Regions from separate parts of the Homo sapiens genome. Here all the other regions are linked to region 3. Evidence: promoter capture Hi-C in 16 types of primary human blood cells and fetal thymus (Javierre and others, 2016). All regions are on one chromosome and are shown on one strand. The core of a region is centred on a gene start or on the middle of the fragment in contact, and the rest is flanking DNA. Distances in the headings are between cores, read along the strand shown.

What was found. The method cuts DNA at HindIII sites, captures the fragments that hold promoters and counts their contacts. A CHiCAGO score of 5 or more calls a contact.
Region 1: a fragment that was not itself captured here is called in contact with the fragment with the promoter of ELK3 in region 3 in 10 of 17 cell types (non-activated CD4 T cells, total CD8 T cells, total CD4 T cells and 7 more); the score reaches 12.7 in non-activated CD4 T cells.
Region 2: a fragment that was not itself captured here is called in contact with the fragment with the promoter of ELK3 in region 3 in 4 of 17 cell types (total CD4 T cells, total CD8 T cells, naive CD4 T cells and 1 more); the score reaches 8.9 in total CD4 T cells.

The regions. Positions count from the first base shown.
Region 1 is chr12:96,504,640-96,507,857 of GRCh38, forward strand. CFAP54 (cilia and flagella associated protein 54) reads left to right here. Exons shown (of 68, transcript NM_001306084.2): 4 at 2,289-2,460. Among named protein-coding and RNA genes, the nearest start is that of CFAP54, 17 kb to the left of the region's middle. The HindIII fragment of the contact is 3,540 bases long and covers 1-3,218 here.
Region 2 is chr12:96,528,837-96,531,669 of GRCh38, forward strand. All of the region lies in intron 9 of CFAP54 (cilia and flagella associated protein 54), which reads left to right. Among named protein-coding and RNA genes, the nearest start is that of CFAP54, 41 kb to the left of the region's middle. The HindIII fragment of the contact is 2,750 bases long and covers 24-2,773 here.
Region 3 is chr12:96,192,820-96,195,750 of GRCh38, forward strand. ELK3 (ETS transcription factor ELK3) reads left to right here and starts at 1,556. Exons shown (of 5, transcript NM_005230.4): 1 at 1,556-1,886. RefSeq lists a silencer at 1,381-1,520 and an enhancer at 2,852-2,931. The HindIII fragment of the contact is 11,050 bases long and covers 1-2,931 here.

The sequences.
Region 1 (3,218 bases), core at 260-2,759, 310 kb after region 3:
GGTTGGTGTTTGAACCCTGATCAGTCTGACTCTAAATCTATGTTACTTCAAACTTGAGGACTATTCAAGGGTTTGGGACCCGTATGTGGTTAATAAGCAGAAACTCTTAAGGCATGTTTGGGAGACAATTGAACAGTTCAATTTGGCTGTACCATAGGTACGTGAATGAGAATACTGGGCGATGTAGGTTGGCACCCTGTTAGGGAAAAGGTCTCTCCTACTCCCCTTTTTGTAGCCTTGACCCCCTACCTTCTGCTTTTTGCTTTTCATATTTTGCCAGAATTTATTTTTCTTTCTTCCTCTTTCTTTCTTTTTCTTTCTTTCTTTCTTTCTTTCCCTTTCTTTCTTCTTTCTTTTTCTTTCTTTCTTTCTTTCTTTTTCTTTTCTTCTCTTTCTTTCTTTTCTTCCTTTCTTCCTTTCTTTCCTTTCTTTTCTTCTTTTTTTTTTGGAGTCTTGTTCTGTTGCCCAGGCTGGAGTGCAGTGGCATGATCTCAGTTCACTGCAACCTCTGCCTCCTAGGTTCAAGCAATTCTCCTGCCTCAGCCTCCTTAGTAGCTGGGATTACAGGCGCATACCACCATGCCCGGCTAATTTTTGTATTTTTAGTAGAGATGGGGTTTCACCATGTCGGTCAGGGTGGTCTCAAACTCCTGACCTCATGATCCACTCTCCTTGGCCTCCCAAAGTGCTGGGATTACAGGTGTGAGCCACCGTGCCTGGCCAATTAATTTCTAAAGTAGAAACCTGTCATTTTGTTCCACTACCCATTGACTTTGCCTTTTGGCTAAAGTCCAAATTCCTTGGAATACATGGAATGCTCTCTCTCTTTTTCTGAGCCTGGGTCACCCCTATAATAGCCTCACTTTTTTTTTTTTTTTTTTGAGACCGAGGCTCACTCTGTTGCCCAAGCTGGAGTGCAGTGGTGCAGTCTTGGCTCACTGCAGCCTCCGCCTCCTGGGCCCAAGTGATTCACCTGCCTCAACTTCCTGAGTAGCTGGGATTACAGGTGCGCACCATCATGCCTGGCTAATTTTTGTATTTTTAGTAGAGATGGGGTTTCTCCATGTTGGCCAGGCTGGTCTCGAACTCCTGACCTCAAGTGATCTGCCTGCCTTGGCCTCACTTCTTTATTTTAAACCATCTCATCCAACCTTACAAAATACTTTCAATTCAGTGACCGCAGCAGTCCCTTCAATGCTGCATGAGCCTGGTGCATGAGCCTGTAACTGTTTTCCCTCCTCTAAGAGCAGTGTCCGTTTCTTCCTCATCCTAGAGTCTCTGTTGCCTAGCAGAGTGTGGCTAATAGAGGTGCTCAAGAAACATTTGTTGAGTGAATTGTGTAAATGGTTATAATCACATCTGAATTAATAAATAAGTTAAAATGCCACTGGGGAGCTTATAACAATTGATTCAATTCTGGCCGGGCGCGGTGGCTCACGCCTGTAATCCTAGCACTTTGGGAGGCCGAGGCAGGCGGATCACGAGGTCAGGAGATCGAGACCATCCTGGCTAACACGGTGAAACCCCGTCTCTACTAAAAATACAAAAAAGTAACCAGGCGTGGTGGCGGGCACCTGTAGTCCCAGCTACTCAGGAGGCTGAGGCAGGAGAATGGCGTGAACCCAGGAGGTGGAGCTTGCAGTGAGCCGAGGTCAGCCACTGCACTCCAACCTGGGAGACAGAGCAAGACTCCGTCTCAAAAAAAAAAAAAAAAAATTGATTCAATTCTGTATTTTTGGTAATAGGATTTGTTTTTCTTTCTGAATTTCTTGTGACTAAGGAAAGCTAGTCTTAACTAGATGGATGTTTTAAAGAAACCTATCTTTTTTTTTTTACACTAATCTATTAAATTAATTATCCATAATTGTTTCCATTTTAGTTTTTTACATTTTGAGAAATGCTTTCCTAAGTTATTTCTATTTCTTCCTTCTTTTTCTTTCTTTTCTTTTCTTTTTTTTTTTTTTGAGATGGAGTTTCTCTCTTGTCACCCAGGCTGGAATGCAGTGGCACGATCTTGGCTCACTGCAACCTCTGCCTCCCAGGTTCAAACGATTCTCCTGCCTCAGCCTCCTGAGTAGCTGGGATTACACGCATGTGCCACCACGCCCAGCTAATTTTTGTATTTTTAGTAGAGACAGGATTTCATCATGTTGGCCAGGCTGGTCTCAAACTCCTGACCTCAGGTGATTTGCCCACCTTGGCCTCCCTAAGTGCTGGGATTACAGGTGTGAGCTACTGTTCCTGGCCAGTTATTTCTATTTCTATTTCTATTTTCCCATGTGTTTCAGTTTCATGCTTTGAGTGGCAAAAATATGTGCAACTACCAGCTGGTCTGCGACAGTGATGAAAACCTGAAGAATAAAGAATCTGTGGTCCAGTGTCTGCATATCTTGTCCTCCTTAAGGCTCATCATGCAAGTGGCTCTGCCACAAGAGCATCTTTGCTGGATTATCTTCAATGGTATATGCTGATGTATTTTATTTTCCATTGTGTCTTTCAGAAAGTTACTTCAATGCTAAGTTTGACAGTAGCTTGAGTACCTTGTGATTTAAAACATACGCATTTCATAATAGGATGAATATATTTTTTTCAACATTCGTGTGACATGTTTGTCCTCGTAAATTGGGATGGATAAAGCATGTCTTTGGGTTTTCACTGGGGAAAGGGTCAGAGACTGTGGGAATAATCACTGTTGGGTGTTCAAAAAGCAGGGCCGCAGTTAACAAGTAAATATAGATGGAGAAGGGTCAAAGAACCAGTGCGGGTTAGATTGGCTCTAAGCATCACCCATTTACTGGCCCTGTCCTCAAACAACTTGGCTTTGGGTTTCTACAAAGTGACCTCCTCCTACTTTTATTTTGAGTGAGGACTGCTGAGGAACACACACACACACATACACACACACACACACACACACACATACACACACACATATGTACATTATGTGTATGTCTGAAGAAATGACTCTCAGCTAAAAAATGTAATACTTGCTTTTCTCTATTTTAAAGTTGCAACTTACTGCATTATTCTCTGGATAATATATTTTTAAAAGGAAAATATTGACAGTGTGTTCGATGTGCATAAGACAGGATCAAATAACTTCAAGGAAACATATTGGATTTTCCCTCATCCATGGCAACTGAAAGTATATTTTCTAGCCTTTTCCTTTCTCACCCACCCCCAAGTCATGTTTTGACATTTTGATTGAAATCAGACTT
Region 2 (2,833 bases), core at 149-2,648, 340 kb after region 3:
TTTAAAAAACTTATTGACTTGGAAGCTTAGATCATTGATTTTTAGGATTTGTTATTATTTACATTAAATGCATATTAAGACATTTGTTCTAAATTCAGCTTTAGCTATGTATCTGAAGTTTTGATATATCATATCTTTATTACTATTGGAGTAAGAATATTTTCTAATACGCAGTGTGATTTATTCTTTGATATATGGGTTCTGAACCAAAATATGGGAGATTTTCTAATTATCTTTTGGTTACTGATTTCTATGTTAATTATACTATGGTCAGAGAGCACATTATGTATTATTTGGAACTGTGAACATTTGTTAAGATAGGCTTTATGGCCTAGCACATGACCAGCTTTGGTAAATAGTCTGTGTGTACTTGAAAGACTATGTATTTTTTGTTGTTGTTGGATGCATTGCTTTATATATATGTTGATTAAGTTAAGCTAGTAAATCATGTGGTTAGATCTTCTCTATCCCTACTGATAGTTTTTGTCTTTTTATTTTATGAATTACTCAGAGAAATATGTTAAACATCTGCTATGCATTTCTGTTGGTGTGGAATTGCAAGAGCATGGGATATTCCCATGTTGCTTCATTGGATACTGTTTTACAAAGTGGTTTTTTTTAGTTTGCACACCCATCAACATTTTATCAGGGTTCCATTACTCCAAATTTTCTCTGACACTTAGTATTATCTGTCTTTCTCATTTTGTCCATTTTGGTGTGAATTCAGTGGTGTTGCAGTATAAACTTAAATTTCTCTGATGACTAATAAAGTTAAACACTTTTTCATATACTTTTTTCACTATTGGATATCCTATTTTGTGAGGTGCCTATTTTAACCTTTTGTCCTTTTTTCTGTCGATTCATAGGAATTCTTTATCTATTCTGGATATAATTCCTTTATTGAATACATGTATTGCAAATATCATTTCTTACTTGATGGCTTGCCTTTTCATTCTCTTAATGATATCCATTGGGGAACAGAAATTCTTAATTTTAATATAGTCCAATTTATCAATATATCCTATATAGTTGATCCTTTGTGTGTTGTGGTTAAGAAGTTTCAGCTACCCCAATGTCGTAAATATATTCTCGTATGTTTTCTTCCATAAGTTTTATTGTTTCTTCCTTAAGTTTATGAGGTCTATAATTAGAAATTAGATCTTTTTTGTTTATACGAAGTAGAAATCAAGATTTATATACTTCTATATGTATATTCAGTTGACACAGCACCATTTATTGAAGATAACTTCCTTTAGTTGGCTGCAGTATCCCTTAGTCATAAATTAGGTGGCCGTATGTGTGTTGTCTGTTTTTTCACTCAGCATAATTCTCTTGAGATGTATCCAGGTTGTGTGTATTAATAGTTCACTTGGCGGGGTACCATGGCTCATGCCTGTAACCCCAGCCCTTTGGGAGGCCAAGACGAGCTGATCCCTTGAGCCCAGGAGTTCAAGACCAGCCTGGCTAACATGGCGAAACTCTGTCTCTACTAAAAATACAAGAATTAGCCAGGCGTCATGGCATGTGCCTGTAGTCCCAGCTACTTGGGAGGCTGAGGCAAAAGAATCATTTGAATCCAGGAGTCAGAGGTTGCAGTGAATGGAGATCACACCACCACCACTGCACTCCAGCCTGGGGACAGAACAAGACTCTGTCTCAAAAAAAATTTTTTTTCACTTGTTACTGCTGAGTATTATTTTATGGTATGGATACACCACAGTTTGTTTAACCACTTACCCTTTGAAGGACATTTGAATTATTTCCAGTTTTTGGCTACTAGAAATAAAGCTGCTATGAACAGTTGAGTACAAGTTTTTGTGTGAAGGTAAGTTTTCATTTCTCTGGAATAAAATGCTCAACAGTGCAATTGCTGGATTGGATATATGATAAGTTCATATTTAGTTTTGTGAGAACCTGTCATACTATTCTCCAGGGTGACTCTACTATATTTCCACCAGCAATGTGTAAATGATCCAGTTTCTGGACATCCTTGACAGAATTTGGTGTATCATTACTTTTTTATTTTAGCCATTCTGATAGGTGTGTAGTAATATCCCACTGTGACTTTAATTTGCATTTCCCTAATGGCTAAAGATGTTAAACAGTTTTTCATGTGTTTATTTCCCATCTGTATACTCTCTTTTTCTCTAGTGTCTTTTGTTCACTTTCTAATTGGATTGTTAATTATTTCTCTTGAGTTTTGAGAGCTCTTTTTATGTTCTGAATACAAGTCCTGGTCATTGCTTTTTAAGACAGAAAATACCTTTATTAAGATTTTTTTCTCCTCATCATTACTTCCCATTTTTCATTGCTTCTTTCTAAATTCATTTCTTTTTGCTGAAATACAAACTCTAAGAATTTTGAAGTAGTTTGGCTGGATATAATAGTTTACTTACAAGTTTCTTTAAGATTTTGATGCTCTTTTTTATAATCTTGTATATATAGTGTTTCTGTTGAGAAGTGTAATGTCAGTTTAAATCTTGTTGTTTTATAGATGTATCTTTTACAATTTTCTCTTTCTTATGACATTCTTACATTTTATTCTACTGGATCTAGGGGTGGGTTTAGTAATGCAGCAGATACTTTGAGGTCATATCTTTCTTTCATTTTTTCATGTTACTTTTAAATTTCTTTCCTTATATTCATTATTTAAAAAAAAAATCCTTCAAGGCATTGAAGATGCCATTAGACAGATGTTAACAGGATAGATGTTCATCCTCCATGTCTTATTTATTTTATTCTTTTCATGTCTTTATTCTGTTGCATTCTGGGAAGCTTCCTCTATCTGATTTTTCAGGTCACGAATTTCATCTTTGATTCTCTCTGTTCTACT
Region 3 (2,931 bases), core at 306-2,805:
CAGGAGCCCTGAAGCAAATGCCCGAAGGAAATTCCTATCACCTGTGTGCTCTGATAGGCACTTGGAGCTGGGATGTGGTACTAATCAGTAAAACATACCCCGTGCCCTTTAGCAGCTCACAGTTGATGGCAGTGAGAAATTTGTAAACAAAATAATCTTTCAGGAGAGACTGCAAAACTAGAAACAAACGTAGTGGAGGAACTCTTAGAATGTGGTCCTTTTGAAAGGACTCACACCCGGCCCCCAGAGAATCTGACTTAATTGGCCTGGGTTGAGTATATTGTTGGAGAGTGTCAAAACACTCCCCAGGTGATTCTGACATTAGCCGGGGCCCGGAACCACCCCCGACCTACTGAATCTGGGACTCCAGGAGAGGCCCAGCCACTAGTGGTTTAACAAGCCCCTTGGGTCAAGTTTGAAAACCAGGGGTCTGGGCTGCTAAGTGGCGGCATGGGAATGGAAGGTTCTGGAAGGTGAGCAGTGAGGTTGGGGCGCAGGCCTGGGAAGGGAGAGGCTCTTCAACAGCCATCCCCCCCAACCTTGTCTCAGCCTAGGGCAATGGGCAGGCTCTCCCATCAGAGCCTGGCCTGAGCCCTCAGAGGCAGGACCTCCTTGAGGGATGTGGAGGTGTGAAGACCAGTTCTGAGACCACAGAGGCTCCCTTCAAGCCTCAGTCTCTGACCCTGCGGGCATTATTTCCATGACTTCCAGTGTTGTGGCTCCTTATCCTTTCCCCACAGGCTCGCCCCCCAACTGAGGGCTGGCTTTTTTATTTTTTTGAGACGGAGTTTCGCTGGTTGCCCAGGTTGGAGTGCAATGGGGCGATCTCAGCTCACTGCAACCTCTGCCTCCCAGGTTCAAGCGATTCTCTCGCCTCAGCCTGCCAAGTAGCTGGGATTATAGGGACCCACCACCACACCTGGCTGTTTTTGTTGTTGTTGTTTTGGTATTTTTAGTACAGACGGGGATTCGCCGTGTTGGCCAGGCTGGTCTCGAACTCCTGACCTTAGGTGATCCATCCGCCTTGGCCTCCCAAAGTGCTCAGATTACAGGCGTGAGCCAGCACGCCCGGCCGAGGGCTGGCTTTTAAAACACCGAAAACCCAGACAGGAACGGTGTCCATCTCCAACCCCAGACGGAAACTGTGCCCGCACCCACAAGAAAAGCAGTCCTTTGCCCAGAGCAACCAAACCCTGAACCCCACTCTCGATTCCCCTCTGCCCCCCAACTCTTCCATCCCAGCGGATGGGAAACAGCGAGTCCAGCCGCCTCCCCACCTCGGGACCCCCCTCCCGGGCCAACTGCGCAGGGCACGACCCCGTCGTGGTGCCCCGCGCGCTCGACCCCCAGGGGTTGAGGTGAGGAGGGATCCCCGGTGTCCCGGGAAGCGCGGCGGCTTCTGCGGGTTGCGGGCGGACCCCCCTCCCCGTGGGGAGGGGCTGCGGCCGCGCGGAGTCGCCGCGGGTCGGAGGCTCCTCCCCGGGGTGGCCGCGCAGGAAGCGGGGCGGGTGGGGGCGGTGCGGGGCGCGCACGGGGCCGGGGCGGCGGGGGAGGCGCGGGCCTGGGCGGCCAGCCCCGGCGCACAGCCGCGGCCGGGGCGCGCGGCGCGGGGCGGAAAAGCCTGTTTACACAGACTGCACACCGCCTGGGGAATAATGCAGTAAAGGAAGTGAGCCGGCTCGGCCTGACTGCTCCAACTTCCTGCTCTCACACACACCAGAGGGGAAAAAAAAAGAGGAGCGAGAGAAAGAAAAAAAGGGGGAAAAATCAGGATCTCATTACAAGAGCCACAGACCGTCTGCAGACGCCTGTCAGCATGGAAAGTCGGGGGCTTTCGCCCGGGTCCTCCTAGAAATTCCCCCCGAAGAAGACTCCCCCACATCTGGGTAGGTAACAGGGCTTCTGCCTGTTGCTCGGACACTTAAAAAGTTTGTTTGGGGGTGTTTTCTTTTTTTCTTTCTTTTCTTGGGCGCGGTGGGGGTGGGGCGGGGGGCGCCGCGGGGTGGGCTGCGGGCCGGGGTGGGGGTGGCGGTGCGTCCGCGCGGGAGGGCCGGCCGCGGGGAGGGGGCGCCGCGGATGCTCCTGCGCCCGCGTCGCTGCCACCGCCGTCGCCCGAGCTCGCGCCGGGCCCGGGGCTGCGGGGACCCTGCGCCCGCGGCTCCCCTCCCTGGGGCTGCGCTGCGACCCCAGAGGAAGGGGCGCCGGGCGTGCAACCCTGGGAGCTCGCCCAGGGCCCCGCTGCAGGCAGCGCGGGGAGCGGGGGACGGCGAGACTTCGGGTCCCTGGGAAGAACCGTGGCAGGAGCAGGCTGAGTGCCTGGAGGCTGGACCACCGCCGACCTTCCAGCTGGGACCGCAGTCAGGCTCCCCTCGAGTGGGCAAAGTGCACTGGTGCTCGGATCCAGGGAGGAAGACAGGGATGGAGAGGGCGGTGGAGGACATGGGTCGCGAAGGTGTGGGGCTGGGGGCTGCGTCCACTCTCGCTTGGCAGGTGACCCCCGCCCAGGTCACCGCCCCAGGCGCACGCCCCATCGGACATTTAAAAGCCGGTGGTCTCTATTGGGCATGGTTTTGGAGAAGGACCAGGCAAGAAATGATCTTGGGGCCCCTTCCACTCCCCATCCCTGTTTACCTTCGAACTCAACGTTGGCCTGTGACGCTACTGTAACTTTTGGGGAGGCGGGATTAAGATTTTGGAGTAGTTAAAAAGCAAAAATAAAAGGTCTTGGTTTTGTTATCTTTTCTGAACCGAATCATCCTAGGGACAAGCTGCAGTTAGGCGGCGGGTGGAGGTGGAAGCAAGAAATGTTATTTCAGAAACTGCAAAAGGGGCTTTTTAGAAAGAAAAAAAAACGAGTGTCGGGAGAGTTTCTGGCTTGTCTGGAAACGGCAAGACTAATTGCCATGCGCTTCCGCTTTGAAACTGGCAGCA